Regions from separate parts of the Homo sapiens genome. Here regions 1, 2, 3, 4, 6 and 7 are each linked to region 5. Evidence: promoter capture Hi-C in 16 types of primary human blood cells and fetal thymus (Javierre and others, 2016). All regions are on one chromosome and are shown on one strand. Each heading gives the region's core, a stretch centred on a gene start or on the middle of the fragment in contact. The rest is flanking DNA. Distances are from core to core; before and after follow the strand shown.

What was found. The method cuts DNA at HindIII sites, captures the fragments that hold promoters and counts their contacts. A CHiCAGO score of 5 or more calls a contact.
Region 1: a contact is called between a fragment that was not itself captured here and the fragment with the promoter of CECR3 in region 5, in 2 of 17 cell types (non-activated CD4 T cells and M2 macrophages). The highest score is 5.8, in non-activated CD4 T cells.
Region 2: a fragment that was not itself captured here is called in contact with the fragment with the promoter of CECR3 in region 5 in 1 of 17 cell types (activated CD4 T cells); the score reaches 5.4 in activated CD4 T cells.
Region 3: a fragment that was not itself captured here is called in contact with the fragment with the promoter of CECR3 in region 5 in 2 of 17 cell types (M2 macrophages and non-activated CD4 T cells); the score reaches 5.6 in M2 macrophages.
Region 4: a contact is called between a fragment that was not itself captured here and the fragment with the promoter of CECR3 in region 5, in 10 of 17 cell types (M2 macrophages, non-activated CD4 T cells, total CD8 T cells and 7 more). The highest score is 8.8, in M2 macrophages.
Region 6: a fragment that was not itself captured here is called in contact with the fragment with the promoter of CECR3 in region 5 in 1 of 17 cell types (M2 macrophages); the score reaches 8.0 in M2 macrophages.
Region 7: a contact is called between a fragment that was not itself captured here and the fragment with the promoter of CECR3 in region 5, in 6 of 17 cell types (M2 macrophages, M1 macrophages, endothelial precursors and 3 more). The highest score is 11.9, in M2 macrophages.

The regions. Positions count from the first base shown.
Region 1 is chr22:17,115,182-17,118,174 of GRCh38, forward strand. It overlaps IL17RA (interleukin 17 receptor A), which reads left to right. Exons shown (of 13, transcript NM_014339.7): 13 at 1-512. TMEM121B (transmembrane protein 121B) reads right to left here. Exons shown (of 1, transcript NM_031890.4): 1 at 1,116-2,993. Among named protein-coding and RNA genes, the nearest start is that of TMEM121B, 4.7 kb to the right of the region's middle. The HindIII fragment of the contact is 438 bases long and covers 1,110-1,547 here.
Region 2 is chr22:17,051,005-17,054,161 of GRCh38, forward strand. All of the region lies in intron 3 of CECR7 (cat eye syndrome chromosome region, candidate 7), which reads left to right. Among named protein-coding and RNA genes, the nearest start is that of CECR7, 16 kb to the left of the region's middle. The HindIII fragment of the contact is 3,382 bases long and covers 1-3,157 here.
Region 3 is chr22:17,092,109-17,095,096 of GRCh38, forward strand. All of the region lies in intron 1 of IL17RA (interleukin 17 receptor A), which reads left to right. It also overlaps the pseudogene RPL31P62. Among named protein-coding and RNA genes, the nearest start is that of IL17RA, 8.6 kb to the left of the region's middle. The HindIII fragment of the contact is 2,792 bases long and covers 136-2,927 here.
Region 4 is chr22:17,068,206-17,071,135 of GRCh38, forward strand. No RefSeq gene overlaps it. Among named protein-coding and RNA genes, the nearest start is that of IL17RA, 15 kb to the right of the region's middle. The HindIII fragment of the contact is 677 bases long and covers 1,167-1,843 here.
Region 5 is chr22:17,265,172-17,268,157 of GRCh38, forward strand. It overlaps CECR3 (cat eye syndrome chromosome region, candidate 3), which reads right to left and starts at 1,562. Exons shown (of 3, transcript NR_038398.2): 1 at 1,352-1,562. RefSeq lists an enhancer at 1-11. The HindIII fragment of the contact is 21,393 bases long and covers 1-2,986 here.
Region 6 is chr22:17,416,003-17,419,224 of GRCh38, forward strand. The region is part of intron 1 of CECR2 (CECR2 histone acetyl-lysine reader); the gene reads left to right. It also overlaps the pseudogene TERF2IPP1. Among named protein-coding and RNA genes, the nearest start is that of CECR2, 48 kb to the left of the region's middle. The HindIII fragment of the contact is 5,330 bases long and covers 1-3,222 here.
Region 7 is chr22:17,463,546-17,466,650 of GRCh38, forward strand. All of the region lies in intron 1 of CECR2 (CECR2 histone acetyl-lysine reader), which reads left to right. Among named protein-coding and RNA genes, the nearest start is that of CECR2, 96 kb to the left of the region's middle. RefSeq lists an enhancer at 1,822-2,580. The HindIII fragment of the contact is 3,741 bases long and covers 1-3,105 here.

The sequences.
Region 1 (2,993 bases), core at 79-2,578, 150 kb before region 5:
TGCTTGCTCAAATCAATCACCTTATTTTACATCCGCTCCAGGGAGAAATGAAGACATGGTCCTACGTTGTTCTGTAATTATTTTCTATGTAAATTTTGTTCCTTGTTACAATTATATATGTCTTAGGGGAAAGGACCATTTCACATGTGTCACCTCATGTGATTCTCACCACAGCCCTGTGATTGCTCCTGTTTTATAAATAATGACATAGTTCCAGTTGATGGCCAAAGCCACAGCTAACGAGAGGCAGAGAGAGCTCAGGCTCCCAGGAGCTTCCACTCTCAGACCTTGCCTCCCGGGCTGCCCTGAGTGAAACGCCTGCTTAGCATTTGGCACAGCCAGAAGCAGCAAGCTAGGGTCACAACACAGAGAGGGGCTGTGTAATACTGGCTGCCTCTGTGCTAAGAAAAAAAAAAAATCACTGTGTGTTTGTTTATTTTGGTGCAGGCCCAGTGTTCTTGCTTAGACTTAATACTACCCTTCATGTTAAAATAAAACCAAACAAAAACCCATGGCCTTGTTCTTCTTATTCATACGTAAGAATTTGTGCTTCTGGCTGGGGCAAGAGTGATAGAGGAGGGCACAGTATTTAAAAATTAGTTTCTCAAGATGTTCCCCCTTTGGAAAGCTACTCTTTTAGAAAGAAATGGGAAGCCGGGCGTGGTGGCACACTTCTGTAGTCCCAGCTACTTGGGAGGCTGAGGCAGGAGGATTGTTTGAGCCCAGGAGGTTGAGGCTGCAGTGAACTATGATGGCGCCACTGCACTCCAGCCCAGGTGACAGAGTGAGACCCTGTCTCAAAAACAAAGAAAAAGAAAGAAGGAAGGAAAGAAAAGTGAGAGAGAGCCGAGGGTGATGAGAAAAAATCGTTCTCAGGCTGAGTCCATTAGAGCTGAGCTGGCTGTGCCAACAAAGCATGTCAAGACACTCACCAGCTCCAGGCCACAGCTTCACTGCCTCCCTGAAAAACATGCCAACTGCCTAGAAGGGCCAAGGTGTACCCATAATGTTAACACAAACTTATAAAATAATGGCGAATGTCACAGTGACATTTAAGAATTTTGTAAGGAAACCAGGACAGAAAAGATCTTAAAACAAACCACACAGGAAGCTTGTCACAAGTCTCAAGTTTTTTATTTTCAGAACAGAGTCTGGTTTTATTTTTAAAAAGAGAAGGAAAAAAGTGATAAATGCTAGTGAGGTGCCACTTCCCTCCTTCTTCCAGGCTCTAACCGCCAGCTAGCTCTCTTTCACAAAACCCACGGATGCAGAATCAGGACATGTTAAAATGGAACAGTCTTTAGAGAGGGTCTAGTCTTTTTAAAATAAGTAAGGATTTGGGGACTAACAGAGAGGAAGCCCCTGACTTGCTGAATTGTTAGGAGCAGGCGGTTCTCGAGATTCTGAGCCCAGGATCCTTTTCTGTGAACCATGCACGTGCTGGCACTGGCCTCAGGAGACAGTGCCCTGCCTTGGCTGTCAGGTCCACGGAGAAATCTCAGGTTTGCCCCTTCACTAGGGATGCCCTAGAAAGCAAGGGCAAAGGAAGCTTTAGGGGTCATCGTGACTGGGGCAGGGGAAGTGAGTGCAAGGACTCAAGAAAAACACAGCAGAGGAAGGGACTGACCCTCTGAGCACACAGTGGTTGACCCACATGTGTAAAAGAGGGTGACTGGGGCTGAACTGGGGGCCTGATATCTGCCAGAATTGGCCAAGTTGCCATCAGCTTCTTGACATATCCAGGGAAGTGGCAGCTCATTGGAACTTATCACAGCCTCCCACCAAAAACCTAACAAACAGTACAGAGATTTTACAGTCAGGGAGGCCCAGCAGGAGATGGCCATCCAAACAATAGAAGGGGGGCAGATCAGGGGGCCAGCCAGCGGCTGGCCATGGCTCAGACACAATGTCCTTTCACAGTCACTGAGATTAGGTAGCAGAGAAACACAGCAAAGCTGGAGAGAGGACATGGGAACAGCGAGCAGCTGTTGGTACCCACCCAGGGCCCAGGCCCCAGAACCTTGAGTACAATCAAAGGGAGAGGAGAGGAGTCAGTGGGGGCAGGGGAAGAAGGCAGAAAAAAATACCAATTAAGTGTGAAATCCAGCCAGCTATTGGGCCACATAGGGTGAGGGACTGGAAGCACAGATTGTGCATGGAGTGTAAACATTTTCCCCCGCTGTTCCCTGCTCTGAGAGCATGAGGAGGCTCAAGAGAACTCTGGTCAAGCCTTCTGCCCCTCTTATGTCTGTCTACAAGGGTGTCTTCTGCTCCAAGCCCCCAAAACAGTTGTAAGAGGGGGCTTCAAGTGGGAGGCGGGGGCTTGGCCTGGGTGCTGAGTTAACGGCCAGTGACTTGGCACTTCTGACCCTCCCTGTGCACTCTGCAGCTGTGCCAGGCCCTGCCCCACACCCAGCCCAGGCACCCAAGCCCTCCCTCCGGCCTTCTCTGCTGGGGCTTCACACACCCAGTACAGAGCAGGGAATGTTCTGCAAGTGCAGCCTGGCTGGCTTCTCTCCCAGCCACCTTTACAGGGAGCATCAGGACCAGGGCTTTCAAGAGCCACAAACTCAAAAGAATGTGAGAGCTGAAATTACCTTCAACCTTAGAGATCACTCATCTAACTTCTACTTTTTTAATGTGAGAAAACAGGCCCAGGAAATAAAAATATGTCACTCAAAGCCAATGAGTGACAGAATCAGAACTAGAATCCACATCTTCTGGTAACTCGTCTAGAGTTTGTTACACTACATAAAACTTCCCAAACGTAAGAAGGGAGAAGGGGAAACAAAAATTCTTCAAGTTTCACCCCCACCACATCCTGTTGAGGGTGGAGGGAAGTGAGTATTTCCTGGCCTTGTTAGCTGCTGTCCTCCTGCACCCTTAAAATATGTAAAAATACTTATCCTGCCTCAAAGACTGCAAGAGTGACATTCCACACCGACTGTAAGTGCACAGTCCCCGGATGTCTCTTGTCATCACCCTCAATGAGA
Region 2 (3,157 bases), core at 316-2,815, 210 kb before region 5:
TGGATATTCATGTGCAAATAAATTAATTTGGGTCTCTGCCTAACACCATACACAAAAATTAACTGAAAATGGATCACAGACCTAAATGTAAAAACTAAAACTATAAAACTCTTAGAAAAAAACACAGGAGTAAATCCTTGTGATCTTGTGTAAGGCACTGATGTCTTAGATGCAATGTCAAAAGCACAGTTCAAGACCAGCTGGGGCTAAATAATGAGACCTGGAAAAGGAGGAAAGGGAAAAAGTGAGAAAATGAAAAATGGCAAATTGAACATCAGCCAAATTTAAAACTTTGGCACATCAAAAGATACAATCAAAAAAGGGAAAGACAGCCCACAGAATGAGAGAAAATATTTATAAATCATATGTCTAATAAGTGATATATCCAGAAGAACTCTTACAACTCAATATTAAAAGACAATCCAGCTTAAAAATGGGAAAAGAACATGAATAGACATTTCTCCAAAGATGATATATTAATGTCCAATAAGCACATTAAAAAGTGTTTAACATCAGTCACTAGGAAAATGCAAATCAATCCACAATGGGATGTCGCTTTACACCCACTAGAATGAATACAACCAATCAAGACAGATAACGCCAAGTGCTGGAGAGGAGGTGGAGAAATCGAAACCCTCATACACTGCCAGTGGGAATATAAAATGGTGCAGCCACTTTTTTGGAAGATAGTATGTCAGTTTCTTAAAATGTTAAAAATAAAACTGCTTTAAACCCAGCAACTTTACTTCTAGGTATCTACCCAGGGAAAATAAAAATGTATGTCGACACAAAGACTTGTATGTGAATATTCACAACACCATTCACAAGAATCGAAAGGTGGAGACAACTCAAATGCCCATCTACTGACAAAGGGATTAAAATGTGGGATATACAAAGGAATACTACTCAACAATCAAAAGGAAGTTCTGAGGCACACTACCACAGTGGTCACCCTCAACAACACAATGCTTCATGAAAGAAGCCAGATGCAAAACAACACACATTGCATGATTCAGTTTATATGAAATGTCCAGGACAGCCTCGTATAGGGACAGAAAGCAGATTACTGGTTGTCGAGGGCTGGGAATAAGACTGAAAAGTGACTCTGATAGGCACAAGTTTCTTTCTTGGGATGACAAAATGTTCTAAAACTAGATTTCGGTGATGGTTACATAATTCCATAAATATACTAAATATACTAAAAATCGTTGAATTGGACCAGGCACAGTGGCTCACACCTGTAATCCCAGCACTTTGGGAGGCCAAGGCAAGAGGATCACTTGAGCCCAGGAGTTCAAGACCTGTCTGGGAAACATAGAGACTCCATCTCTACAAATAGTTTTTTTAAAATTAAACAGGTGTGGTGGCACAAGCCTGTAGTCTCAACTACTCAAGAAGCTGAGGCAGGAGGATCACCTGATCCCAGGAGGTTGAGGGTGCAGTGAGCCATGATAGCACCATTATGCTCCAGCCTTGGTATCAGAGTGAGATCTTGTCTCTCACACACACACACAAAAATCATTGAATTGTACACTTAAAATAGGTGAATTTTAGTATGTAAATTAGACCTCTATAAAGCTGTTAATTTTCTTAAGGTTTTTTTTTTTTCTTTTTTCTTTTTTTTTTTTTTGAGACAGAGTTTTGCTCTTATTTCCCAGGCTGGAGTGCAATGGCACGATCTCAGCTCACTGAAACCTTCGCCTCCCAGGTTCAAGCGATTCTCCTGCCTCAGACTCCCAAGTAGCTGGGATTACAGGCTCCTGCCATGAAGCCCAGCTAATTTTTTGTATTTTTAGTACAGACAGGGTTTCACCATGTTAGCCAGGCTGGTCTCGAACTCCTGACCTCAGGTGATCCACACACCTCAGCCTCCCAAAGTGCTGGGATTACAGGCGTGAGCCACTGCACCAGGCAATTTTTTTAAGTTTTAAAATTACAATATTTACCCCTAGCACCAAGATTGTCTCAAAATACCACTAAAAGAAAACAAGCCTTCCTGGAGAGAGTGCTGATTCCAGGTCTAGGCCAGAAATGTATAAGATAAGCCTGGAACACTGTCACTCTGGATAGCAAGGAATCTATCAAAGATTAGGATGCTTTCAACACGTCTGAAGAGCCAATCTGAAGGGACTCCTTCTAACCAAAGATAGGACATTTTATACATTAATAAGGATAATAATTGCAGTGGATTGAAATACATCAAATGTGTTTGAATGTCTGCATTCATAATGATTCTTTATAAAAAATAAAAGTGGGTTGGCCAGCCACAAGGGCTCATGCCTGTAATCCCAGCACTTAGGGAGGCCAAGGCAGGAAGATCACCCGAGGTCAGGAGTTCGCAACCAGCCTGGCCAACCTGGTGAAACCGCATCTCTACTAAAAGTACAAAATTAGCTGGGTGTAATGGTGCATGCCTGTAATCCCAGCTACTCAGGAGGGTGAGGCAGGAGAATCACTTGAACCCAGGAGGTGGAGGTTGCAGTAAGCCGAGACCTCGCCATTGCGCTCCAGCCTGGGCAACAGAGCAAGACTCCATCTCAAAAAAAAAGAATAAATAAATAAATAAATGTGGGCTGGGGACAGTGGCTCATGCCTTTGGGAGGCCGAGGCAGGAGAATCACTTCAGCCCAGGAGTTCAAGACCAGCCTGGACAACACAGGGGGACCCTGTCTCTACAAAAAATGTTTTAAATTACTCAGGCTTAAGGGCCCATGTCTGTGGTCCCAGGTACTCAGGAGGCTGAGATGGGAGGATTGCCTGAGCACAGAAGTTTGAGGCTGTGGTGGCATGATTGTCCCACTGCATGCCAGCCTGAGCAACAGAGCTAGACCGTCCCTGTCTAAATAAATAAACAAATAAAAGTAGTCACCATCAAAGGATATAAATGAAGCAGACCATCATTTTGAAAAATGGTAAACAAAAAGAACAAATCAAGCCACTAACTGGCCTTTTCTATATAAATTGTACAACTGGGTAGCACAATAATTTATAAGAAGCTGCATCTCTTTTTTATATTTACTTTTTTTTCTTCATGGAAGGCCCTTCTCAGGGTAGCAATATTTCTTTCTGGAAGTATGGCAGCTCATAAATGAAGAAGGAATGATATAACAATACCATCATTGTTCAATCCATAATTGATCACTGGCTGTTAACATTA
Region 3 (2,988 bases), core at 282-2,781, 170 kb before region 5:
CCTGAAGTTGCAATGGCCAGTGGTTTAATCAGTCATGCTCACATGAAGCCTCCATAAAAACGGGGTTCAGAGAGCTTCCAGGTAGTGGAACATGTGGAGGTTCCTGGAGGGTGGCACACCTGAGGAGGGCATGGAAGCTTTGTACTCCTTCTCCTATACCTCACCTTTTCTTCTGTATTATTTGTGATATCCTTAAAATAAACTGGGAAATGTGTTTCCCTGAGTTCTCTGAGCAGCTTTAGCAAATTAATTGAACTGAAAGAGAGGAGCATGAGAATCTCACGTTGAACCCGGTTGGTCTTAGAAGTTCTGGAGGCCCAGACTTACCACTGGTGTCTAGGGGGTGGGCGGTCTTGGGGACTGAGCACTCAACCTGTGGGATCTGATGCTATCTCCAAATAGTGTCAGAATTAAATTGGAGGATACCCAGCTGGTGTCTGCTGCCGAATTGATTGCTTGCTTGGTGGTGGGAAGAAACCACCCCCCGCCAATATGTAGTCACAGAAGTCTTCTGTGACTTCTGTTGATTGTTGTGGTGATGTGAGGGCAGAGGAAAAATACAGCTTGAGTTTTTCCACACTCTCGGGGAATATGTGTCCTTCTCTTCCAGAATATTTTCTTTCTTTCCTTTTTTAAAAAATAACTTCTTCCTTCTGTTTTTTTGTTAATCTCCTTCTAGAAATCTAGTCAATCATATTTTGTTTCCTAAATTGAATCTCTAATGATCATATATTTTTTCCTATTCTATTTGTGCTTTCAGAGAAATGTCCTCAATTTCATAGACTAACCCTTCTATTGAATTTTTATTTAGTAGAACTTCTATTGAGTTTCAAGGTTCAGTTTTCATTCTCTGCCTGCTCATTTGTCCATGGTGTCCTGCCCCTGTCTTACAGATGCAGTGTTGTATCTCTTCGGGGCTATAATAATTTTACTTGTTTGGTTTAATTGTGTTAACAGCATTGTTTTTTTTTTCCTTCCAGGAGCATTTTTTAATTGTTTTGATCTATTTTTCATACAGAAAACCTATCTCAAATATCTGGTACTCCTTGGCTGTCTGAGAATATTTTAAGAATGAAGTCCTAAAAGCTGATTAAATGCTCTGTGTAGTTAAGGTTTATTGAACATTGGACTTCACTGTATAGGAGGTCAAGCTAATCGTGAACCTGGCCTATTGGGTGACCTCCAAATGCTGAAATCTGGAGGTGTTTTTTTTGGGCCTGGCTGCCAGCATTCTGAGATCAGAGCACGGAAAGAGAGGATAAGGTTCCCAACACTCCATATGTAGACCTTCACTTAATTCTCCCTGCCCCTAAGCCCTGAACGTTATAAGGTTCTGAGGGGCCCCTGGCCTCCTTATCAATAACTCCCTTTTGTAGCATTCAGACAGAAGTTCCTCCACTCAGCACAAGCCAGCTGCCTACTCTGCTGCCACTTGGACAGTTATTTATTTATTCATTCATTTGTTCATTTTTGAGGTTTTATAATTTTATTTGACATCAACAGTTTGTTCTCATCCACAATGTCTGACTGTCAGTTTCTGAAAGTGGTAATGGGTACACAGGTAACCAAAGTATAGAGCTTGCTTGGTGAATCTTCATCCTCATGCTTTCTGGACAGCTGCACATGGACACAGTATGGAACGTTCCTTATTCCTTTGGTCCAGACAGCTTTGTTGAGCCTGGTGTTAGCATATCTGGAGTCCCCATCTCCTTCATGGCAAAGTTCTGGGACTTTTTGAGTGACCAAGGGGCACACTGCTTGACGTCCCCTCCATGGGTGTGCTTGTGGATGCTGATGGCATATTCTGGTGTCACCACCTCATTGGTGGCAGGTGACAGAATAGCCCTTTTATTTTATTTTATCTTACTTTATTTTATTTTATTTTATTTTATTTAGACAGAGTCTCGCTCTGTCGCCCAGGATAGAGTACAGTGGCACAGTCTTGGCTCACTGAAGCCTCTGCCTCCCAGGTTCAAGCAATTCTCCCACCTCAGCCTCTCAAATAGCTGGGACTACAGGCACATGCCACCACACCCAGCTAATTTTTGTATTTTTAGTAGAGACAGGGTTTCACCATCTCTTGGCCAGGCTGGTCTTAAACTCCTGACTTCAGGTGATCCACCTACCTCAGCCTCCCAAAAGTGCTGGGATTACACGCATGAGCCACTGCGCCCAGCCAACACTCTTCTTTACAGGAGCTATGCTGCTGGGGCCAAGTTGGAAAGGACTTTTAAAATTTTGTTCACATCTTTTGTCCACTGAGTTTGGCTCTTTGAGTTTGAGAATTTACAAAAAAAAATGTTCTTTCCTATAATTGTTATATTGTTTGGAGAGAGGGAGAAAATATGTGTATATGGTCAATGCGCTATTACCTCTAATAGAATTGTTATTCTATATTTCACCTATATGTATATTTTTCAGTTTTGATTAAATCTTTTTTCCCCTTATCTTCCCTCATGCCATCTCCTCTGCTTGTGTGCCCTTTGCCCCCAGCAAACTGTGTTAACACCTGTTAACATGTTTCTATTCTCATTTAGTCATACACACACTCTCTCTCTCTCTCTCTCTCTCTCTCTCTCTCTCTATATATATATATATATATATATATATTCAGGGAGATCTTTTTCATGACTTATTTCCATAGAAATTGGGATCATACTATAAAAAGTTATTTGAAACTTATTTTCCTCTCTCATCAACACATTCCAGCCATCTGCAGGTCAACAGATGTCTATGCAACTAATTCTCATTCTCTTTAATATTTGCATAATATTCCATAGTAGATAGCAATCTATTCAACCATTTCTAGTTTGATGGACATTTAGATTTAAACTAGATCTCACCTTAATTCAGCCATTCTCTATTGATGACCATTCAGTACCACAGAAAAAGAGGGAAAGCTGTCCATTTTTTTTAAAGCTAGTATAAGCTTAATTCTAAAACTTGACAAATCTTATACAAAAAGAAAAACTATGGACCAATCTCATT
Region 4 (2,930 bases), core at 255-2,754, 200 kb before region 5:
CTCAGCAAATACTGGGTTCCTCTCCTCCCCTGTCACCTGGGCTTCAGGTTTCCTGAGCTTATCTGCAAACCTGTGCTGAACAAACAGAGCTACAGCCTGAGTGGCTAAAAAACATGAAGAGAGGACAAGAATGTGATGTGTGGGAGGCAGAGGAAAGGGTCATGGCCACGCAAAACTCTACTCAGAATTGCAAGGGGGTTCCTCTGCTGCCCCTTCGAGCCCCCACACTGAAACTGGCTTTTCTGCTATTTTTAAGATTTGTTAAGTCAGGCCTGCTTTGCATGGGAGCTCCACCTCCACAATAGCCACTTTCTCCTTGGGATCTGACTTGGATCCCCACCTCAGCATTGTCAAAGGCCCCGTGGAGCCTCTGAAGCTCTCCCTCCTGTGGCCTTTTGAGTCTAGTGCCTGTGCTGTGCATGGCTCATCACGCTCCATAAGTATTTGTGAAATCAAAATGTCTCCTTCTTGCCCAACACACACCCATGGCTCCTCACAGCCCAACTCCCCTGCTGTAACCCATCAGCCAATCCAGTCACATTAGACCTCTTGCATCCCCTGAAAAAACTCTATGCCTTTCCTTTGCCTAAAATGCCCTTCTCCCCCTTCACCCACTGTCTCATTCCTCAGGACCCTTCTCAAAAGTCACTCCATCAAAAAGCCTTTCAGATTCCAGCAAACACAAGGGAACTTCCGCTTATCCCCATTCCTCAAATCACTTTGATTGTGAATTAATTAATTAATTAATTAATTTATTTATTTATTTTGAGACGGAGTCTTACTCTGCTGCTCAGGCTGGAGTGCAGTGGCATGATCTCAGCTCACTGCAACCTCCACCTCTAGGGTTCAACAGCTAATTATTGTATTTTTAGTAGAGATGGGATTTCACCATGTTGCCCAGTCTGGTCTCAAACTTCTGACCTCAGGTGATCCAGCCACCTTGGCCTCCCAAAGTGCTGGGATTACAGGCATGAGCCACCACACCCAGCCTGAAAATTTTTAAGTTTTTAACCTTAGCAGCTAACAGCAGAGTTCTTTAAAAGGTATTTAACATCTGTTTTTGGAAGATATGTTAATGAAATTGGATAACTGGGTTTCCTGGGCACGTCAAACCATAGTCATCAACATAATGTACCCTACCTTCTCATCAAAGTCCTAATAAGACAAGCTTTCGTTTCTTTATGACAGAACCACCCTAAGCGTTTAAATTCCTTACCCAGAACTTAAGTCTTAATTTAAAATTTTCATAAATCAAATTATTTGGAAAAATCTCAATACTGATTACAAAATAATCAAATTATTTTACACATTTAAAAATATTCGAATCTATTATCATTCAACTTTTTTAATATTTCAAAATAAGTCACAAGATGAATATCAAATCCTCTTAACTATTTCAAATTAATATCACAATCATAATATGCCAGATTCTCTAACATGACATTCTCCAAAATATTTCAGATGCCTTAAGAAACAAATAATACATACAAATTACCATGATGATTTCAGTTTTTTTCTAAACCTAATGCAAAGTAGTAATATCACGGATTTGGTAGACATTTTTCTTATCACAATGCTTATTTCTACACCTTCACAGCATTTTCCTATGCTTACCACTTTAAGGAGATCAGAATTACTGTCTCAGTTTGGCTGGGGCTGCTCAGTCCAAAATTTGGAACTGAGATGAGTTACAGATTTCAGTTTAGTTAGAGTTTCTGAATTGCATCAGAACAGCTGGGTCTACTTCCAGAGTGGTCCCTCCTGAGGTTTATTTTGACTCATGGTTCTACAGGTTGTAAGGGAAGCATGGCACCAGCATCTGCTTCTGATGAGGGCCTCAGGAAGCTTCCCATCATGGCATATGGCAAAGAGGGAGCAAGCAAATCATGGTGAGAAAGGAAGCAAGAGTGAGCGGGAGGAAATGCCAGGCTCTTTTGATCAGCCGGATCTCGCATGAAGTCATAGAGTGAGAACTCATTCATTACTGCAGGACAACACCAAGTCATTTGTGAAGATTCCATCCCCGTGACCCAAACACCTCCGGGTAGGCCCACCTCCAACACTGGAGGTCACATTTCAACATGAGATTTGGAGGGGACAAACATCTAAACCATATCAAGATTTTTCATTTATTTGTCTAAATTGATTCCTATGTATTTCATATTTTTGTAGCTATTGTAAATGAGATTGCTTTCTTGATTTCTTTTTTCAGATTATTCACCATTGACATATATAAATGCTACTAATTTCTGTATGTTGAGTTTGTATCCAGCAACTTACTGAATTAGTTTACCAGTTCTAGCAGTTTTTTGGTGGAGTCTTTAGGTTTTTCTAAGTGTAAGTTCATGTCATCTGTGAACAAGGCTATGATTTCTTTCTTTCCAATTTTAGTACTCTTTATTTTTTTCCCTTGCCTAATTGCTCTTCCAGGACTTCCAATATTATGTTAAATAAAAGTGGTGAAAAGTGAGCATCCTTGTCTTATTCCAGATGTTAGAAGAAAGGTTTTCAATATACAATGTTAGCTGTGTGTTTGTCATCTACGGCCTATGTTATTTTGAGGTATGTTTCTTCTATACCCAGTTTGCTGAGGATTTTTACTATAAAGGTATGTTGAATTTTATTGGATGATTTTTCAATATCTATTGAAATGGTCATATGGCTTCTGTTCTTGGTTCTGTTAATGTGATGTATCACATTTATTGATTTGCGTATGTTGAATCATCCTTGAATTCCTGGGATGAATTTTACTTGATCATGGTGAATTATTTTTTAACATGTTGTTGAAGTTCACTAGTATTTTGTTGAGAATTTTTGCATCTATGTTTATGCTTGATATTGGCCTGTGGTTTTCTTTTTTGTGTGTATTTATCTGGTTTTGGTATCAGAGTAATGCTGACTTTCTAGAATAAGTTTAGAAGTATTCCCTC
Region 5 (2,986 bases), core at 312-2,811:
AGCGGGGCTCGGAGGACATTGCACCAGACAGGTCTTGTTTAGAAAATTGGAAAAGAACAAATATTGATTACAAGAGTGCAGGAGAATGGGCCCTTCCATCATCAAAAACAGGTATTCAGCCAGGCGAAGTGACTCACGCTTGTAATCCCAGCACTTTGGGAGGCAAAGGCAGGAGGATCGCTTGGGCCCAAGAGTTTGAGACCAGCCTGGGCAGCATGGTGAAACCCAGTCTCTACAAAAAATACCAAAAATTAGCTGGGTGTGGTGACGTGTCTGTGGTCCCAGCCATTCGGGTGGCTGAGGTGGGAGGATTGCTTGGGCCCGGGAGGTCGAACCATGTTCACACCATGGCATTCCAGCCTGGATGACAGAATGAGACCCTGTTTCTAATAATAACAGTAATAATAATAATAAAATACATACTCACTAGCTATGACTCTGCTTTACAGGATAATTGGGGCAAAAATGTTCTTGGGTGAAACTGGGTAACCTAATTTGAAAGGTCTGGGAAACATGGCCCAATTTCAGCCTCGCTCGCCACTCACAGGCCAAGTGGAGGTTGCGGTTCATAACATACTGGACACTAGACATCACTAATGCCTTCATTCTACAAATGGGAAAACCATGGCTGAGAGGTCACCTGATCTCCCAAGTTCACTCAGAGACGTGGGGATGGGCCGAGCTCCAGAGCCTGGGCCTTGCCCTGCTCCACCCCATACAGCACGAAGTTCCCTGGCCAACTAAGGAAGGAGTGCAAGGTGACTGAAGAAAACAAAAACAAACAGAACTGACACAAAAAACAAACAAACAAAACTGAGTGCCAAAGAAGGAGAATTTGGGGGCTGAGGCTGTGGCTGCAGAGTGGGAGTGGGGATAATCAACGCTGGGCTCCTGAGTGTCTCTGGAAGGGCGGGCCCTGGTGTCCAGAGCGCCTGGTGCCCACCTTCCCCTTTCCCCCAGGGCCCCTGTCTGAGAGCTCTTCTACCCACTCCTGGCTGCTGGGGCACCTGATATTTTCCAAAACACAATTTTCACACCCTTAATAGTGGGCTGCGGAGGAGTCAGGATCAGAGCCTCTAGCTCAGATTTCCTTCCCTGAAAGGATACGGTCTTAGAAACTGCATGCTGTGCAGAGTCCTATCATTCAGAAGAAACACAAAACCCAAGCCCTGGGGAGTCACGTGGCCACCACGGATGCCCCGGCCTCGGACTAAGCTAAGGGCATTAGCCCGGGTGGCCTGTAGCTGCTCTGCAGCTCTGATCAGTCCTACAGACACATGGCACCCCCCACCTGTCACCTTTAGGACCCTCCAGTCAGGCCCCCTTAAGATGCAGTGTTCCCCATGCTCACCTTTGAGGCTTACTCTGCTGCTAAGGAAACAGCATGCAACTTCCCAGGGTTATGAGAAATAATTTTCCTAGGAATGTCACCAGCTGCAGACGCCCCTGTCATAAACTGTCCCAGCTCTAAGCCGCCTAGGGCTTTTATCCCCTCCTCTTAGCTACTCATTACCCAGCTTAATTAGGCCAGGAAATGCTGGCGCTGAAGACACTCTCGGCAGGAGGCAGGGCTGGAGGAGAGATTCTCAGCAGCGCCACTTCCTGAGGCTTGATCTGGGGGCTGGGGAAGGCTGTGGAGGAGGTCGGCTGGGGATGGCAGGCTGCGTCCTCCAGTGAACAGCTGCTGGGAACGAAGCAGGGATGCACGCATTTGCTCCCCAGGCCCTCCAGGGAGCTGAGGGTTGCACTTGTTTACGGTAACAGCACCGGATCTGAAGGCCTTGGAAGGCTCTGCCTGCCCCCACCCCAACCCTCCCATCTCAATTAACCAGCTTCACCACCCCACCCCCACTCTTTCCTAGGGAAGAGGTTGAAACCTCAGTTACCACTCACAATATTTCAGCCCCAACCCTGACATAATCACAGTCAAAGACCCAGCCTGAGATGCCTTCCATTTTCAGCCAGCCCCTGACCTTCACCCTGAACCACCTTGGTCATGCACAACCTCCTGGTTCTTCACTAGGTGGAACACAGGAATGGGGTTGCCTGCTATAGAGCTGTATGTGCTTCACCCAGTTTTGGAGCTTTCTGCTCCAGTGGCGTTGGAAGGGGAGTAGCAATGTTGAGGGTTCATAGAATGGGGTTTATATCAGACAGATGGGGGTCTAGACTGTAGCTCTGCCCCAGGTCATTCTGTGACCTTGAATATGCTATTTCATTTTTCTGCACCTAAGTTTCTTTAGCTGCAAAAATGGGGGTGCTAATATCGGCTTCTTGGGAGGTTGAGATGATCTTATATCCTTATAGTAGACACAGGCAAATGTTCAGTAAGAAGTGGCCGGTATCTCCGATGTGGGGCACTAGTTCAGAGGCCTGCAGTTACCAACTTTTCTTTGCTGGGAGGTATGGAAAGGGGAAAACTAGTATTAATGAGATCCCGCTATCTGTGGAAGGTATTCATACTTACACGATTTTCCTTTCATTTCCCAATTATCTGTGGAGGCTTTGAGATTTAAATGAGTAAACTGAGGCTCGGAGAGGGTAGGAGGGTGAGTCATGCCTCATGAGTGGCAGAGCAGATCATACAACAGGGCTACGGCAGATGCCCAGGGCTGCTGAGTCTGGGACTGCTTCGTGGCCTGGAAATGTCAGAATGACACCAGTCTAGGCCAGGCGCAGTGGCTCAGGTCTGTAGTCCCAGGACTTGGGGAGGCCGAGGTGGGCGGATCACTTGAGGTCAGGAGTTCGAAACCAGCCTGGCCAATATGGTGAAACCCGTCTCTACTAAAAATTCAAAAATTAGCCAGTTGTGTTGTTGGGCGCCTATAGTCCCAGTACTCAGGAGCCTGAGGCACAAGAATCGCTTGGACCCGGAAGGCAGAGGCTGCAGTGAGCTGAGATCAAACCATTGCATTCCAGCCTGGGCGTCAGAGCGAGACTTATCTCAAACAAACAAACAAACAAAAGAATCACACCAGCCTAGAGC
Region 6 (3,222 bases), core at 627-3,126, 150 kb after region 5:
TGTTTTTAGGATTGCCATTAATGTTTCCAGGCCCTTCCCATTTTTGTGTTGGATTAAAATGGTGACAACATGAAGCCTGCAGTCAATGTGAAGGGAGTTGGGTGCCTTTCTTAGTGAGATACCTTAAAGGGAACCTTTGAATATGGCTCTCTAAATAGTGACAGATCTCTTATAAAATATGTTCGCATATATAGAGTTCAAAGGTAAGCTAGAGACATGAAGAAAGGAGCAGTGATTTATATTTATCACTTCCTTAAAATGATTACTAATATGGAATTTGGAATTTCTTTTTGCTTTGTGAGTCAAGAAGATGGAATATATATATGTTTAGTTTTTTTCTATACCTTTATTGTCACTGACCTTTTTTTGTATTTGTTTCCTTTGCCCTCAGATATTGACAAATTGCATCCTCCTCATTAATGCTCTGAATGATAAAATGGGCAAAACCAAATAGGGTATGTTGGTTAGGATTTTGGTCCCACAATCTAGGCTATAGGAGTTCAAATCTTGATCATACTGTTATTATTATATTGTTATTTTGAGACAGAGTCTTGCTCTGGTCGCCCAGACTGGAGTACAGTGGCACTGTCTTGGGTTCAAGCAATTCCCATGCCTCAGCCTCCCTAGTAGCCGGGATTACAGGCACGTGCCATCATGCCCAGCTAATTTTTGTATTTTTAGTAGAGACACGGTTTCATGATGTTGGCCGAGCTGGTCTGGAACTGCTGGCCTCAAGTGATCTGCCTGCCTCAGTCTCCCAAAGTGCTGGGATTACAGGTGCGACCCACCACGCCTGGCATTGATCATACTATTATAGATGGATCATGGTTCTTCCAATTTGGAACCTTAGATTGTGTCAGTAGCTTTACTTTTTCTCTTTCTAAATAAATAAAGCACCATTGGATACCAAATGTGCACATTTATGATTATTTCCATATAGTAACTCCTTAAAAGTGTCACAGTATGAATCTTTTTAAAGTCTCTTGATACGTATATCACATCAACATTGTCAGATTCTTTTTTTTTTTTTTTTACGACAAAGGGACTTTAAAAAAAATCTAAGAATTTAACTTTATCACATACAGTGGTAGATGTTTTACCCTCGTTAATTCTTGAAGAAACTTATTTTTTGATTGCCTTTACTCCATGCGTTTCAGAAGTTTCTGTTGTAGGCATTTGAATAGAAATGGCATTTAGATAAATTTAAATGTAGGCCTACCAACAACCATTGAGTGGCACTATCTTTATAACAACTTAAAAAGCTGTACTTAGTGAAACTAATATTAATCACTGTCAAGTTTTGACAAGTCTTGTAAAAAGGGAGAAAAAATAATTAGGTTAAAGGTGTTATTGCTACGATTTCTGCTTAGGATGAAAAGTAAAATTGTGGCTCTCTGGAATTTACTTGGAAGCAGATCTTCTGGATAGCTGAGATTTCCATATAATGGAGTTTACTACAGTTTACTACTTGTGGCCTGAAAAAAAATTTTTTTTAAATTGATACAGGATCTCGCTATGTTGCCTCAGGCTGCCCTCCAACTCATAGCCTCAAGCCATTCACACGAGCAGCTGGGACTATAGGCAGCATTCCACAACACCCAGTCTGGCCTCTTATTTTATTTTAGTATTTTTTTGAGACAGACCCTTGTTTTTTCAGCCAGGCTGGAGTGCAGTAGCGTGATCTTGGCTCACTGCAACCTCTGCCTCCCGGGTTCAAGGGATTCTCATGCCTCAGCCTCCCTAGTAGCTGGGACTATAGACACGTGCCACCATGCCCGGCTAATTTTTTTGTATTTTTAGTAGAGACAGGATTTCACCATGTTGGTCAGGCTGGTCCTGAACTCCTGACCTCAAGTGATCCACCTGCCTTGGCCTCCCAAAGTGCTGATACTACAGGTGTGAGTCACTGTGCCCGGCCCTCAATTTTAAATTTTCCGCTTTTGAGAAGAATCTTGATAGAACGTATTATACTTCTTAGCCTTAAAAAAAAACATAAAAACCAATCATCTTTGAGGTATAATTTGTATACAATTAATTACACAGATTGTAAGTATACAGTTGAGTTTTGACAGCTGTATACAAGTGTATAACCACCACCCCCCAAAAAATATAAATCATTTTCATTCCCCAAGAAAGTTCTCTCATGCTGCGTGCAGTCAAATCTGCCCCACCACACATACCCTGCCCCAGGCAATGGCTGATCTGATTTCTCTCACTACAGATAAATTTGTCTGTCCTGGAAAATAAGTGCAATCATAACATATGCCGTTTTACTTGTCCTTCCCAGGCTAATGTATGGGATATACTTTTATCTAGTCCCAGTAATTGTGCATCCTCAAGCCTATGTGTTACTGCACTGCGCTGTAGCTTAGTGGTTCATTTTCGTTCTGTTGAGCTGTGTCTGTCTTTGCCCGGAACTGTAGTAGCCCCACAGGTACTGGGAGAGGGAGGTTTCTATTGCACCTCTTGTCAGAAACCAACTCCCTTTTACTTGTATCCGTTCACATACTTTCCTAATAGTTTTCTGTTTCTGTTATAATTAGCTGTGAGCTGTGCAATCATGTAACTAACTTTGTTTAAGTATTGTTTAGTCTTTCTGGTCTCCAGATGAGCTATATAAAAATGAGGTTAGGTCAGTCTCGCTGTGTGCCAGACACTCGCGAGGGGCAGCTCCTCTAGTGCCCGGCGTCAGACATGGCGGAGGCGATGGATTTGGGCAAAGACCCCAATGGACCCATCCATTCCTCGACTCTGTTGGAGAGAGGGAGGACGGGAGAGGGAGGACAGCAGCTCTGTGTTCTTCCACGTGGGGCCCAGCCCGGCCGAGCTCATCCTGCAGGGTGACCGCACTGTCAGGTCCAGGAGCCCGGGAGGCGCGGGCCGAAGCCCTGGGCCACTTCATTTCCACAGGTACATCCTGGACTGGTGGAGCCAGCGAGAGGCTGGAGCTGGAGCCTATCGGCTGGGCCCCGCCTCGCCTCAGGGGACACTGCTCGGAGACAAAGCCCGGGGCCCTGGCCAAGGGCACCGCGGAGGCGCCTTCCCAGACGCGGATGACGTGGCTGTCCTGACTGACGGGAAGGAAAATGGCTGCTCGCCCAGCTCCATCACCAGCAGCGGCTTGTGGACAACTCGCCCACGCATCCCTGGTGGCGGTCCCTGAAGCCCCCGCGGGGTCAGGAGCACGAGCACTTGCCAGGGGACGCCTGGGGCGCCCCTCCT
Region 7 (3,105 bases), core at 496-2,995, 200 kb after region 5:
AAAAGGGAAGAGTCAAGGATGCCTCAATTTTTTGCTGGAGAAATATGCCATTTACTGAGACTGGGGAGTTAGAGGGAATCAGGTTTGAAGAGGTGAGATCCAAAGCTCGGTTTGGTTCTGTTAAGTTTGCGCTGCCTGTTTGACATTCATTGCTGACGTCGGGGACGGGCACTGGGATAAGGGGACTCCGGAGTTGAGGAGAGGTGGGGGGGTGTAATGAGAGCCAGCCTAATCGATGGGATTTTGAGCCATGATGCTGAAAGAGCTATCAAGAGTCAGTGGGTGTAGAGCAGAAAGGGAAGCAAGAGCAGGGAAAAGAAGAGGTCCAAGGGGTGGTTCTCCAGCAGTAGAGTTGGAGGGCTAGGGTGAGGAAAACAGCAAAGATGGAAAAGAAATAGCAGTGCGGTGGTGGGTGGGTGTGTCCTGAAAGCCAGAGAAGAAATTATTTTAAGATAGAATCAACTTAAATGCTGCTTTTAAACTTAGTATGATGGAGGCTGAGAACCATTTGTTAAATTTGGCTTGGTTGCAGTACAATGGTGGGAATGAAAATTTGTTTGCATCACTAATACTGGCATTAAGATTTTGTATAGAAGTTTTTGTTACCATCTCTGAGGCTTCAGTCATTTTAATGAAGTTTCACTAGTGAACTGCTTCATCAGTTGAGACAGGTAATTGCTTAGGCAGGAATTTCTTCTCTTTAGGCCAACTGATGAAATTTCTTACTAGTATCAAGTTTAAAAAGGTGTCCACATAATTAAAAGAAAACTCCTAGTTCTTAAATTGTCAAAGAAGTGGCCATATTCTCCCTGCTGCTTATCTCTGACGAGTAGGGGTTTGACAGAGGGCATCTTTGCTCTGCCACCCCTCACTGTCTTGGCCCAATTCAGTTAATATTGGCAGCTACCAACATTTGTTATGCTTATTACATTTTTAAGGAATAAAAGTCTTTTTTTTCTTTTGAGGCAAGGTCTCTCTCTTCTCTGCTTGGTCGTTCAGACTGGAGTACAGCGGCATGCTCATAGCTCACTGCAGCCACAAACTCCTGGGCTCCAGCAGTCCTCCCTCTGCAGCCTCCTGAATAGCTTGGACTGCAGGCACGCACCACCATACCTAGCTAATTAAAAAAATTTCTTTGTAGAGATGAGATCTCACAAAGTTGCCAGGCTGGTCTTAAACTCCTCGACTCAAGCAGTCCTCCCACTTCAGTCCCCCAAAGCACTAGGATTACATCCATGAGCCATTGTGCCCAGTCCAGAACTTCCTTTTGAAGGAAAGTATTGATGTGCAGTTTTCGAGAGCACGTCAGCCTCTCTATTAAGTTTTTCAATGTACTTCTGATAGTATTTTCTGAAAATTTTTCTAAGTCACAATTTCTAATTCACTTGACAGTTGGGTATTTGACCTATAGGTAGGTGCACATTCATGATCATTAAAACATCAATATTTAAATTTTTTTTTTTTTTTTTGAGACGAAGTCTCGCTTTGTCGCCCAGGCTGGAGTGCAGTGGCGCGATCTCAGCTCACTGCAAGCCCCGCCTCCTGGGTTCACGCCATTCTCCTGCCTCAGCCTCCCGAGCAGCTGGGACTACAGGCGCCCACCACCACGCCCGGCTAAGTTTTTGTATTTTTAGTAAAGACGGGGTTTCACCGTGTTAGCCAGGATGGTCTTGATCTCCTGACCTCGTGATCCGCCCGCCTCGGCCTCCCAAAGTGCCGGGATTACAGGTGTGAGCCACTGCACCTGGCCAAATATTTCTATTTAAACTGTTTTTGTGTTTTATTTTGTTTTTTGTTTTTTTGAGACCTAGTCTCACTCTGTCTCCCAGGCTGGAGTACAGTGGCACAGTCTTGGCTTGCTGCAATCTCCACCTCCTGAGTTCAAGTGATTCTCATGCCTCAGCCTCCCTAGTAGCTGGGATTACAGGCATTCACCACCTGTTTTTTTCCTTTTTTTGAGACAGAGTCTTGCTCTGTCACCCAGGCTGGAATGCAGTAGTGCATTCTTGGCTCACTGCAACTTCCACCTCCTGGGTTCAAACGATTCTCCTGGCTCAACCTCCTGAGTAGCTGGGATTACAGGTGCGTGCCACCATGCCTGGCTAATTTTTGTATTTTTAGTAGAGACGGGGTTTCACCGTCTTGGCCAGGCTGGTCATGAACTCCTGACCTCGTGATCCCCCCGCCTCAGCCTCCCAAAGTGCCAGGATTACAGGCGTGAGCCATCACGCCCAGCCTAATTTTTGTATTCTTAGTAGAGACAGGGTTTTGCCATGTTGGTCAGGCAGGTCTTGAACTCCTGTCCTCAAGCAATCCACCTACCTCGTCCTCCCAAATTGCTGGGATTACAGGCATGAGCCACTGCACCCTGCCTAAAGTGATTTTAATAATGAGAATACAACACGTGTTATTGAATCCTCAGAGCATTTATTGAACATGGTAAAGTAACTACCCCCCGCTCCTTTATTTATTTATTTATTTATATTATTATTTTGAGACAGAGTCTTGCGCCATCACGCAGGCTGGAGCGCAGTGGTATGATCTCGTCGGCTCACTGCAACCTCCGCCTCCAGGGTTTAAATTTTTAGTAGAGACAGGGTTTCGCTATGTTGGCCAGGCTGGTCTTGAACTCCTGGTCTCCCAAAGTGGGAATACAGACATGAGCCAGAGCGCCTGGCCTTCCGCTCCTTTTAAAATGGATTCAATCAAGTGACCTCTGTAAAAATCCATAACCTGTATTGATTGAGGTTGGTTTCAGGCTATTTATTGTCGTTTCCCTCATTTCTTTAAGCAAATTTCTGTTACTCAAAATTAAAACAATTGAATGAGCATCTTAGAAGAAACTTTCTAAGCATTTGGATTCAAGGTAACTCTATTTTGTGAGAGAGAATTACACTGAAAACCCTTTATGTCAGCCCATAGTTTAGTTATCTGTAAAATGATGCCATTAATACCTACTTTGAAGAGTTTTGTGCAGAGTAAATAAGCCAAAGAATGGAAACCTGGTATCTGTCCCCAAGATGGTAACCACTATTGTTACTTAAAACCTTGCCTTTTTTTTTTTTTTGAGAAGGAGTCTTGCTCTGTTGCTCAGGCTGGAGTGCA